3 separate regions of the Homo sapiens genome follow, and all the other regions are linked to region 3. Evidence: promoter capture Hi-C in 16 types of primary human blood cells and fetal thymus (Javierre and others, 2016). All regions are on one chromosome and are shown on one strand. The core of a region is centred on a gene start or on the middle of the fragment in contact, and the rest is flanking DNA. Distances in the headings are between cores, read along the strand shown. Region 1 overlaps GAS7 (growth arrest specific 7). Region 2 overlaps GLP2R (glucagon like peptide 2 receptor). Region 3 holds the start of MYH13 (myosin heavy chain 13).

Region 1 (4,168 bases), core at 1,488-3,987, 440 kb after region 3:
CTTGGTGGCATTTACTCCCCATCAGCAGGACCCCTGATTCTTGATTGTTTAGAGTGCTCAACAGGTGGCAAAACTCTCTCCGACGTGGTAGTGGTGACATAAGTGGTGTGGATGGCTGTGTGCAGGATATAACTCATTGCCGTCAACCACCACGCGAGATAGCATACACATTTCACAGTGAGAAGAGGTGGGGTGAGATCACAGCCCATGGTCACACAGCCAGGTGGGTTCAGTCACAGAGGAAGCAAAGGAAAGGACTGAGCGAATGGGAGACTTGGTCCCCAGAGCTTTTCTTCCAGCAGCTCCCCTGCTTTGGCAGACCAATGGCATTGAAAACACAGCCTCTTCTTGAGCCTGTGCCTTTCCAGGGGTTGCCAATGGGCTACTGCAGACTGGCCCTGGACAACCACATGCTCAGAACATTTTAAGTTAGTGTTCAGGACACAGGGTGGACCTCACCATTCAGTTGACAGGAAGCTCATGAAGACCCGTCATGCAAAACAGACTTTGCTACGAGAGGCTCTCGGCTGCTTCCAGCCTGTCGGTCAGTGTTGGTGGCCTCAAGCGGTCATCGCAGCAGCCTAGTGGTTTTATGGCGATTCCTTGAGAAGAAAGTGGCTCCAAGGATGTATTTGACTGCCATGAATAATATAGCTCCATATGCCAAAAACCGTTTTTAATGTCTGCTCCAAAAGACTTATTGAAATTCTGCTCTGAATGCTCTGTGTCAGGGGTAAAAGCTCTTTAAGAAATGCAATTTTGTTGCAGCAATTTTTGTGGTTTTTCTGGTCCATTAGCTCAAGCCATTGCTAATAGCAACAGATTGCTAAAGAAATGAGAGAGCCGTATACAAAGAAAGTTATACCTGGCTCCTGCTGAAGAAGGGAGAAGAGCAGAATTCCTTCTGCTGATAGAAAATCTCATGCGGTAGAGGCTCTGCGTTCCATCAGAAGATTTAGGGGACAGGAGTGAGGAGACATGAGTTGTATCTCAGTATTGTCACTAACAAGCTCTGTGACCTTGAGCAAGTCACTTAGCTCCCCTGGGGTTTCATTTCTTCACATATGAAATGAAGAATTCAGACCAGATCAGTCTCTTTACACTTATCTGACAGTGACTTACAATGATGCATTTTATGTGAGCATTCAGAACCTGTCTGTAGGTATCCACTCCGATATCTGCACACAGACATTCACACACATCTGTAGCTGAAACAAACGTTTCATAAAACAGTATTTATCCTCCTACTTAAAATGTACTCTGGTATTTTCTGTTCAAGTCTGGTCTGTTCTCACCAAAAAGCTGGTCCTGGCCCATTAAATCGATTTCACAACTCTCGGCCGCACACCGTCTGAAAAATATCAGACTAGACAGTGTCTGAAATTCCTACCAACTTGGAACTTCTCTTATTCTCTTCTGATGTGTGAGATGAAAAGGAAGCAAAGAGAGCGAGAGTTTTGGAAAGAAAAACTGATGGGCCATGACAGGCCGGCCTGAGTCTGTGAGGACACTTTGAGGAAGGACTTCTGATTCCTGGTTCAACAGAGATGCTTAAAAGTTAAGAATGGGTACTAAAGATACCAGCCTAACCATTTTAAAGGAAAAAAAAAACTGTCTTTTAAAAGTACTTAATATCGTCGGGCACAGTGGCTCACACCTGTAATCCCAGCACTTTGGGAGGCCGAGGCGGGCGGATCATGAGGTCAGGAGATCAAGACCATCCTGGCTAACATGGTGAAACCCCGTCTCTACTAAAAATACAAAAAAAAATTAGCCAGGTTTGGTGGCGGGTGCCTGTAATCCCAGCTACTTGGGAGGCTGAGGCAGGAGAACGGCTTGAACCTGGGAGGTGGAGCTTGCAGTGAGCCAAGATTGCGCCATTGCACTCCAGCCTGGGAGACAGAGTGAGACTCCGTCTCAAAAAAATAAATAAATAAATAAAATACTTGATGTCTGTAGCGAGATGGAGATGCCAGGCATCCTCATCTGTGGAATCAAATCACTTGTGATAGTTAGCAGCGTCACGCTTCCAGAATGTCATTTGAATTTGGGGAAAGCTTCCTGGCATATTGGCAGGTTCATGGGCTTTTCCCCAGACCACAGAACCTGGGGCTGGGGTCCAGGAAACCTTAATGTTGAAAACTCTTCAGGTCATTCCTGGGCGTATTAAAGCCTGAAAGTCACTTGCTTTCCATGTCCTTAGAGACCCCGGAGTTTCTGAGTCAGCAGGCTGAGCTAACTCTCCCAGATTCCCGGAGTCGTACAGCTGCTCCTACTCAGCAAATGCCAAACCTATATACGTGGGAAAGGGGTTTATTTATTCTCGTAAGCTCTCAAGATTTTTGTAGCATCCTGCAAACTGCCGCCAGGTGGGGATGTTTTCCTATACAGGGAAGGTTCCAGGGGCTCAAAAAAAATAGTAGGACATATTTACAACTAACACGAGGAGGAGAGAGGGGTGTTTGGATGGCCAGTTCTCTGTTAGTCTGTGACGGTCATCCAGCGACAAAGCTGTCTTCTTGTCACCCAGGGGATTGAGCTCTGAAGAGTTTGTCATTCTCTCTACAAACACAGAAGGGGCACCCACCCAGCCCCAGCCCAGGTCAGACACTGGGCACAGCAGTGCTCAACCCAGATGGGGCCCCTGCCCGCTTGGAGCTCCCAGCCCCGTGTAAGTCAGTTGCTTAGAATAGGGACACCTAAGTCCTGGTTGTATCCAGAGAAAAAGATATTGTACAGCAAAAACCTGAGGGAGAGGAGAGAAGTCACAGAACCCTCGTTGGGATATCATCTGTCCAGGGAAGTTGAGCTGTGCTCCCTAGAGACACCTCTAAGACCGGTGGAGGCAGATTTGCGGTGGTGGGGTGGTCATAGGTTGAAGAGAGTTGCCTGATTCCAGGCAGTGGGGTGGGAGGGGTGCACAGGGCTAGGGTGCCACCTGGCTTTGACCACAGCAGGTCCCGTTGATCTGTTTTCTTATAAATGTTATGGGCTGGGCACGGTGGCTCACGCCTGTAATCCCAGCACTTTGGGAGGCCGAGGCGGGCGGATCACGAGGTCAGGAGATCGAGACCATCCTGACTAACACGGTGAAACCCCATCTCTACTAAAAATACAAAAAAAAAAAAAAAATTAGCCGGGCGTGGTGGCAGGTGCCTGTAGTCCCAGCTACTCGGGAGGCTGAGACAGGAGAATGGCGTGAACCTGGAAGGCGAGGCTTGCAGTGAGCCGAGATCGCGTCGCTGCACTCCAGCCTGGGCGACAGAGCGAGACTCTGTCTCAAAAAAATAAATAAATAAATAAAAAATAAATAAATGTTATGCTCACAAACAAAAGGAACAAATTTTAAGGAAAAGTTCTTTTAAAGGGGGGTGGGATGGGAAAGAGGGAAGGAATAAAAGAGAAGAAAAAAGCTTAAAACCCTGATGCCACCCAGCTCTTCTGACAGCATAAACCCTTTTCTCTGGCCCCTGGGATACAGGGCGGTTCCCTTTGCCTGTGCTCCAGGCAGCCCAGCAAGCTGAGAATGTCTTTATGAGCGCAATGCGGGACAGTTGCCCTTGTGAGTTTCCAGCAGGTCTCCAACAGTTCCCACCATCAGTTCCTCGAGGTTTGGACCCTGTCTAGCTCACCTTTGTATTCTCAGCACCTGCCATGGAGTAGATGTTCGATAAATAGGACTGACCTGAGACCTTCTAATTGAATGGCATTCATTCGACTGTTCTTTACTGAAGCCGCGTACCCCAGTCACTGTGCTGAGTGCTTGGAGACACAGACGCTGATGTGGTTTCTGTCCCCAGAAAGCTCTCAGTTCGGAAAATAAGGGAGAGAGACATAAGAACAAAGCCGTGCAAGAAGCTGTGGGATAAAATAAGTGTGTGAGGTCATTGATTATTATTGTTTTTTGTTTGTTTGTTTTGTTTTTTTTTTTTGAGACCAAGTCTCACTCTGTCACCCAGGCTGAAGTGCAGTGGCACAATCTCGGCTCACTGCAACCTCCCAGGTTCAAGTGATTTCCTGCCTCAGCCTCCTGAGTAGCTGGGATTACAGGCACCTGCCACCACTCCCAGCTAATTTGTGTGTGTGTGTGTGTGTGTGTGTGTGTGTGTGTGTGTGTGTGTATGTAGTAGAGATGGGGTTTCACCATGTTGGCCAGGCTGGTCTCGAA
Region 2 (3,910 bases), core at 653-3,152, 500 kb after region 3:
AAGAAAGTAAAGAATAACTAGGAAAAGAGGGAGGAAACCCTTTATCTCTCTTCATTCATTCATTTGCTTTTACAACAATGCAGATCTAATAAATACCTATGATCTGACTGACTATGAATGAGGACTGCTGTCATCTCAGAAAGAGGAAGGTGAGATGCAGCGACAACAAGTCACAATTAAAGGATGCCTGTGGAAGGATGTCTTTCCTTAGACCCTAAAAGTTTGTGGTCTCATTTCTCAAGGTCTCAAAAACACCCAAATAATCTCTTCTCTTCAAATCCTTCCCCAAGGAAGGCAACTGCCAAACTTCTCTTCAAACAAGACTGTCCTTTTCCCACAACCACCCATTCTTAGAAACTTTTTTTTTTTTTTTTTTGAGACAGGGTCACCCAGGCTGGAGTGCAGTGGCACAATCATGGCTCACTGCAGCCTCGACCTTCTGGGCTCAAGCAAGCCCCTCACCTTAGCCTGGGACTACAGGCATGCACCACGCCTGGCTAACTTTTGTATTTTTGGTAGAAACGGGGTTTCACCATGTTGTCCAGGCTGTTCTCAAACTCATGGCCTCAAGTAATCCTCTTGTCCCAGCCTCCCAAAGTCCTGGGATTACAGGTCTGAGACATCACTCCTGCCCTCTTAGGGGCATTTTAACAGTTTTCTGCTGGGGGATGTGAATGCCCTTGACTACTCACCATTTGCTTCATCGTCATAGAAGGTCCTCACCATTGACAAAAGCCTCACTTGATCCTATAGCACCTTCCCAGAACTGCTCTTTCTGATACCCTGGCCTTAGGAGATAAATGTCCTTCCCAAGACAGCGGGCAGAACAGCCAGAGTACTTACAATAACCTTGGACTGCTGGGGACCAACCTTAAGCCACTCACCTGTATTTATAATCTCTGAAGCACATTTGATGAGCTTTGAGCTTAGAAATGAGAAGCTTGAGAATTTTCAGGAAGATGAAGAAATTGACCTTGAAAAAAAGAGCAGAATTGGGTAAGTAAGTGACGAATTCCACATAGCTGTGAACTTCAAGGTCAGGCTGGGCTCGGCCATCAGTTCCATCAGTTCAATGTAAACCAGGGGCAATTCAGCAGTTAGCTGGCCAGGTAGTAAATGCTTAGCTGTGATCTCCACTGTCCTAAAGGCCATCTGAATCTCCACTGTCCCAAAGGCCATCTGAATCTCCAAAGTCCCAAAGGTCATCTGAACTGAAAGTCTGGAAGGAATTTCAGAAAGTGATTTAGTTTATTATTCTGCCTTAAGGAGGCCCATCATTAAGGCCATCTAGAAAGGCAGGTGGACGTTCACATTATTATTATTACTATTATTGTTATTATTATTAACTACCACGTATTGAGTACTTATCACTTAGTACTTAGCACCATGTCAGGCTTTGGGCTAAGAATGGTCCAGGCATTCTTGTATCTAGTTTTTACAACATCCCCTTAAGGTAGCCACAACTATTTTTATCCTCATAAAACAATGAGAAAACAGGCACAGAGAAGTAAGTGTAATTCCCAGGTTGCATGGCTAGTCAGTGATTAAGCCTGTAATTAAACCCAGATTCATGGGATTATAACCCTCCCTTCACTTAAACAGAACGCTATTCTGCCTCTCTTCTGTAAAGAACTCCATCCCTATTGGTGTCTAACTTGAGATCCTGTTGCTGCTATGGAATTCATAGACAGAATATGCTCTCTACTCCCTAGAATACATTCCACGACTGTCATGGACTGGGAAAATCCAGCCCTCCATTGTCAGCCTTTAAAGAAATTTAAAAATATGCCTGCAAATTCCTTGGCCCTTCTGCCTTCAAAAGTGGAGGCTAATCCCCCTTATTCCCCTTGTGAGGTGAGCTAGATTTAGTTACTTGCACTTAACGAAAAGAATATGGTGTCATAGAAGTGGTGCTATGTGACTTCTGGGCTAGGTCCTCAAAAGGATGGCTGGCTTCCACCCAGCTCTCTCTTTCTCTCTCTCTCTCTCTTAGGTTTCTCACTCCAGGGGAAGTCAGCCACCATTTTGTGAAGACACTCAAGCAGCCTGTTGGGAGATCCACGTGGGGTAACTGAGTTCTCAGGCCCAAAACCAGCACCACCCACCACCAGCTACGTGTGTGCGCCACCTTGGGAGCTGATCCTCCAGCCCCAGCCAAGCCTTCAGATGGCTGCGGCCCTGGCTGCCGTCTTGGCTGCAGCCTCGGGAGAGATCAAGAGCCCCCTGGAAGTGGTGAAAAGCAGGTGGCTGGGTTTGGGTAGAGCTTGGAGAATGAGAACAGGGTTTGTGAGAAGTGAGACTGGGCAGGAGAGGGGGGTCCGTTTCTGCAGGGTCTTTCACAGCCGTGGTAGGTAAGGAGTTTGGGTTTTCTTCTGAAAGCAATGAAGAGCCAGTGATAGATTTTAAGCACGCAAGTGACCTGATCAGATTTGTACTTCTGCATTTCAGAAAGATAATTTCAGCAGCAGTGTGGAGAATGGATTGGGTGAGGGTAAGGCTGGAGGAGGGGAGATCAGTTGGGAAGTAGTTTCAGAGTTCCTGGGGGACGGTGATGGAGAAAAGAAATCAGCAGCAGTTCTGGTGCTTCCATGATGGAGAGGAAGGGATCAATTTGAAATGATGAAGAAGTATGAGTCAAATGATCTTTGTTATTGACTGGATGTGAGGGCCTGAAGCCAGCAGGAATGATGGAGGTTCCTAGCCAAAGAATATTTAGGAACAGAAAGTTTAAATACAAGGTAAATGTAATCAAGTAATGTATTTCTTTTAATGGGATATCTGCCTCTCATCATAAAGAGAAAACGTTGTGTCCTTGGCTTAGTGATTTATTGAACATAGGCATTTTTCTTACAAAGCAAGCTTAACAGCAGAAAGGCATTTATTTCAGCAAATTAATTTCAATCAGGACTGTCTCCTAGGCAATGAAAGGTTATAATGGGAAGCATGTTGATTCACTGTTCTCTGTGTCTTCCAGAGACCAGACATGAGAAAATGGGCATCAACCCATAGAACGTACGAAGGAGGCACTTCCTCACTGCCACAGGATGAAACCCTAGCTGGGGGTACCATGAAGCCTCTGCTCATCTGGGCTTCCAAGAAGACAAGAGTCAGCAGGTACTTTTGGATGGTGCTGTTCTTCATTTTCACACAAGCAGGAAAGGGGCTGAGTGAGGACATTTTCCAAGAACCCAGCCAACTCCTCCAGGATTTTGTGACCAGATGGGGGTGGGTGCTAAGGACCCCAAATATATAAGGATCTATCCCAGATGCATTCTCAGATGTGACATTCTTGGTGACACTTTCTTGTTACCCCAGCTTCTGTGCACAGATCTGGGCCTACAAGTTGGCAGAGGTGATTGCCGGTATAGCGGGAGCTCAGGGGTAGGCCTCATCTACCCCTAAACTCTTCCATCTACCGCCAAACCCCTCCTCCTCTGGCCTGCTGTGTGGACTAAAATGCTAATCCTGTAGAGCTACTCTTGTGAGTCAAAACACTCTTTCCCCAAGAGCCCTGCTGAAAGGCACACAACCCACTGAAGCTAAGGAATCACTGGGAGAGGAGGAAGGAAGCCCTTTCTCCTTTCATTCATTCATTCATTTTTGCAACAATGAAGACTTCAGTAAGTTACCTAGGCTCTGGCTTATTATCACCATTTAAAGCAGAAGATGGGGTGTAGCAAAGCTAAGTTTTGATGGGGTGGGAAAACCCAGAGTACAGGGAGAGTCACACTTTAAGTCTTTAGAAGAGGAGAGCACAGGAGTGAGGAAATGTCTTGGGAAGCCTGAAGCCACAGAAAGCCCCTGGGTTCCTGGTGGGGCAGAGGACCTAAAGAGGGACAAGGCCAGTGAAGACAAATTTTACCAGTGCATCAACTTTGCCAAGTTCTGAGGCTATCACGGAAGATTCAAC
Region 3 (4,164 bases), core at 1,546-4,045:
GCATGTGGTGAGTTCTTAAGTCTTTTTTCTTTTCTTTCTTTCTTTCTTTTTTTTTTTTTATGTGAGATGGAGTCTTTCTCTGTTGCCCAGACTAGAGTGCAACGGTGCCATCTTCACTCACTGCAACTTCCACCTCCTGGGTTCACGCGAGTCTCCTGCCTCAGCCTGCCAAGTAGCTGGGAATGCAGGTGTGCACCACCACGCCTGGCTAATTTTATTGGTATTTTTAGTAGAGATGGGGTTTCACCATGTTGGCCAGGCTGATGTCAAACTGCTGACTTCAAGTGATCCACCCGGCTCGGCCTCCCAAAGTGCTGGGATTACAGGTGTGAGCCACTGCACCCAGCCTAGTTCTTAAGTCTTAATTATTACCATTAAATGAAACTCAGAGTCTGATTCCATTCTTTTCTTATCACTTCAGGCCTTTCAACACATGAGTCAGGATGACTCCCCTATGAGTCATCTTGATTCATTTATTCACCAGGACGAACATTTACTGAGCATCTGCTACATGCAAAAGGCTGCACCTCAAATAAAAGCAACTGTGCTTAGGGCTGATCACTCTCGGTTGCTTTCTTCTGGGCCAGAACTTTGCTATGGATTATGTCCTTCAGCCTTTCCTCTCTTGTTTTCTGGAACAGGAAATAAATAAGTTTGTGTTCCAACATCAAATCACCTAGGGAAGTTCCAGGTCTAAAAAAAAAGTATTCATATTTCTTTACTGAAGGGCTTCTCACATCCCTTAATATGCTAATATTTATGATGAATCTCTAACAGGAGGGAATAGAGTTTAACACATTTCTTAAGCTCATTTAACCACAGGACCATTTATTTCGAAGCGACCCTCCCAATCTGCATTCTGTCAAATCTACTTTAGAAAATACTTTGTGGAAGCCAGGCTCATGCCTGTAATCCCAGCACTTTGGGAGGCCAAGGCAGGCGGATCACCTGAGGTCGGGAGTTCGAGACCAGCCTGACCAACATGGTGAAACCCCGTCTCTATTAAAAATACAAAATTAGCTGGGCCTGGTGGCACATGCCTGTAATCCCAGCTACTCGGGAGGCTGAGGCAGGAAAATCGCTTGAACCCACAAGGCGGAGGTTGTGGTGGGCGGAGGTCGCGCCATTGCAATCCAGCCTGGGCAACAAGAGCAAAACTCTGTCTCAAAAAAAAAAAAGAAAGAAAGAGAAAGAAAGAGAGAGAAAGAAAGAAAGGAACGAAAGAAGGAAGGAAGGAAGGAGGGAGGGAGGGAGGGAAGGAAGGAAGGAAGGAAGGAAGGAAGGAAGGAAGGAAGGAAGGAAGGAAGAGAAAATACTTTGTGGAAGTCCTATCTCTACCTGCTCCTCCTCTGGTCTAAAATTCACTTTGATTAATGCAAACTATCTTTTGGAAATGCCCTACCTACATGAAATTCTACCCACTGGAGACTGATTAAGGAAACTTTGATTCAACAAACACTGATTATATACAATTTAAACAGATCACACTGTATTGCAGTAAATGGCTCTAACTTCTACATATACAGTTGTTCCTACATAGTCAAACATCACTTATATTTTAGCAAAAAATAAAAAAACTCCTAAGTAACTATAATTGTCACAAAGTCCACGTATTTTCATTAGAACCCACTAGAGCTGCACTCAGAACTTATTTACTCTTACTTTAGCCTGATCTTAATTTTGTAATCTCTTTCCCAATCAATAATACAAAATCAGGCTAGTAAAGACAAACTTACCACAGAAAGAAATTATACCTGAGAGGCTGGCCATGAAGGCAAAGACAGAAAATCTAAAAAGTAAGGCCAAGTGTGGTGGCTCACACTTGTAATCCCAGCATTTTGGGAGGCCGAGGCGGGAGGATCACTTGAGGTCAGGAGTTCGAAACCACCCTGGCCAACATGGTGAAACCCTGTCTCTACTAAAAATATAAAAATTAGCTGGGCGATTATAGCACATGCCTATATATAACACATGGGATTATAGCACATGCCTATAATCCCAACTACTTGGGAGGCTGAGACAAGAGAATTGCTTGAACCTGGGAAATGGAGTTTGCAGCGAACCAAGATCACGCCACTGCACTCCAGCCTAGAGGAGAGAGCAAGACTCTGTTTCGATAATAATAATAATAATAAATAAAAGTATACACCAAAATTCACAGCAGGAACAATTAGTGCAGGCATGATCCACTAAGAACCAGATCCTTGATGACTTTATTATATCATCTCCCAGACCCCCAGAGTGATCAAGAAAAACTTAAATTCTATTCAAGATAGTAGGTTACACAGAGCAGGATAATGTAAAATACATTTTGGAAAGCTTTTCTTCCAGTAGATTTTTAAACAAACAAATACATAAATAAGACTGGATGTGTTAAAAGGTCAACCTTAAATTTCCAGAGATTTCTGAGATGAGAAGCACACCATCCCATACCAATGCTGGGTAAATGAGGTGTAGTTACTGTCCACACTACTGATCACCCATTGCTTGACAAAGCATCCTGTGGTTCTGCCCTTCAGTGACCTTCTTAGCACACTCTGCTCCAGTTCCACTCAGCCCCTAGGACTCTCTAAGTCTCAAAGATCTGTGTCCAACGTCAAAATCCCTATGCAGCTGACTTGGCATTATGCAGCCTCCACTGGTCATTTATCCAAGTAACTTAACAAGAGTGAGAGATCAGGGCTACGACGCATTTACATCTAACAAGTAAATGGTGCTCCCCCAAATATAGCCAAGTTAGAGTGCTGGGCTGGCAGATTTGGGAGTATAAAGAGAGCTGGGGGGTCACACTCCTGAAATTGCTGTGACCGCAGCATCTCTAGGTAAGTGCTCACAAGTGCTCACTTTTTTGCTCCACGTAGCTATAGTTGCACCTGATCAGGTTACCAGTCAAGGGGGGAAGACAATAAAGTAGCCTTTACGGAGGGCCTACTAAGTGCAAGGTCTTGTGTTGAGGGCAAGGTTGGAGACAAGATGGAAAGACAAGACAACTGCCTTTCAAGAAACTTTTACAAGGGGTGAAAAGACAAGAATATAAGCAATTATAAGACAAAAAATATTCACCTGCAGAACAAAACTGAGTATAATGCATGATTCCTCCTCTGATTATTTAGGTCAATGTTATACTGTTCAGTTAGCAAATTAACTTGGTAACTTGTGGTATCTCTTCTGTGATTGCTTAAGCTATTATTTGAAATTTTTATGTTTATTTAATTTGTTTCCCATGTCAGGATTTCTGAAAAATGGTTGTGGGAGGAAATAATCCCAAGCATCTTACCCATCTTACAAAGTGTCATAGTCTGATATGAATTGACTGGTTTGCAGACTGTTCTCACATGGCATATTTTATGGACTTGGGACTGGACTGTGTCTGACAGTGCAATAGCATCCCTCAGAGATTTGTGATACTTTGAATTCAGGCCACCATCTCTACGGAGAACTGTCTGTTATAGACTCATAGGGCTGAAAGGAATCTTGGAGATTTTCTGGTGCATCTGATTCATTTTACGGAAGGAAACAGAAACCCAAAGAAATCATACCAGCTACTTAACAGAACTGATATTAGAATTTCTGTAGCTCTGCCTCCATATTTTTTTAAATTGAGGATTCAGAATATAGTATGTAATACTTTAATTTTTTAAGAAATTGTGAGAATTTTAGGATATAACTGGAGATTATTTAAGATGCATTAAAGACGGAGAAGGAAGGAGGCAACAAGGATAGTAAACCAAATCCTAAGTGTCTGTTCCTGCCTAAATAGGGCTTCATGAAATATTCCCCTGGCTCCATAAAAGCACTGAATGGTAATTGGGAAGTTTGCTTAGATTACATTTGATATTGAAAATTTTTCAGACACTCATGCCTCCTTGAGATAGCCACGTAGTTTATAAACTCCTAGAGCTGAGATTCCTTAGTCCCAGGTGACTTTTCAGCTGCCCTACCTTCATCATCTGCAGGAGGAATTTAGAGCATTGAAGAGAATAAAGAAGTCTTTGTCCACAATTTATAACTTTTCTCCTATTGCCAAAAAAAGGTGACTGCCCCTAAGCATCCAAGCTGCAATCTGGAGCATTCCCCTCCCTACTTTCTTTCTTCCCTGACCCCTCACAGCCCCCCAGTCAGAAGCGGTTTCTCTAAGTTCCCATAGTACTTTGTTTAGACTCC

What was found. The method cuts DNA at HindIII sites, captures the fragments that hold promoters and counts their contacts. A CHiCAGO score of 5 or more calls a contact.
Region 1: a fragment that was not itself captured here is called in contact with the fragment with the promoter of MYH13 in region 3 in 1 of 17 cell types (monocytes); the score reaches 5.4 in monocytes.
Region 2: a fragment that was not itself captured here is called in contact with the fragment with the promoter of MYH13 in region 3 in 1 of 17 cell types (neutrophils); the score reaches 5.0 in neutrophils.

The regions. Positions count from the first base shown.
Region 1 is chr17:9,927,244-9,931,411 of GRCh38, reverse strand. The region is part of intron 9 of GAS7 (growth arrest specific 7); the gene reads left to right. Among named protein-coding and RNA genes, the nearest start is that of RCVRN, 24 kb to the right of the region's middle. The HindIII fragment of the contact is 1,356 bases long and covers 2,060-3,415 here.
Region 2 is chr17:9,867,810-9,871,719 of GRCh38, reverse strand. It overlaps GLP2R (glucagon like peptide 2 receptor), which reads right to left. Exons shown (of 13, transcript NM_004246.3): 10 at 885-973. Among named protein-coding and RNA genes, the nearest start is that of RCVRN, 36 kb to the left of the region's middle. The HindIII fragment of the contact is 1,919 bases long and covers 943-2,861 here.
Region 3 is chr17:10,371,637-10,375,800 of GRCh38, reverse strand. It overlaps MYH13 (myosin heavy chain 13), which reads left to right and starts at 2,795. Exons shown (of 41, transcript NM_003802.3): 1 at 2,795-2,822. The HindIII fragment of the contact is 11,420 bases long and covers 2,322-4,164 here.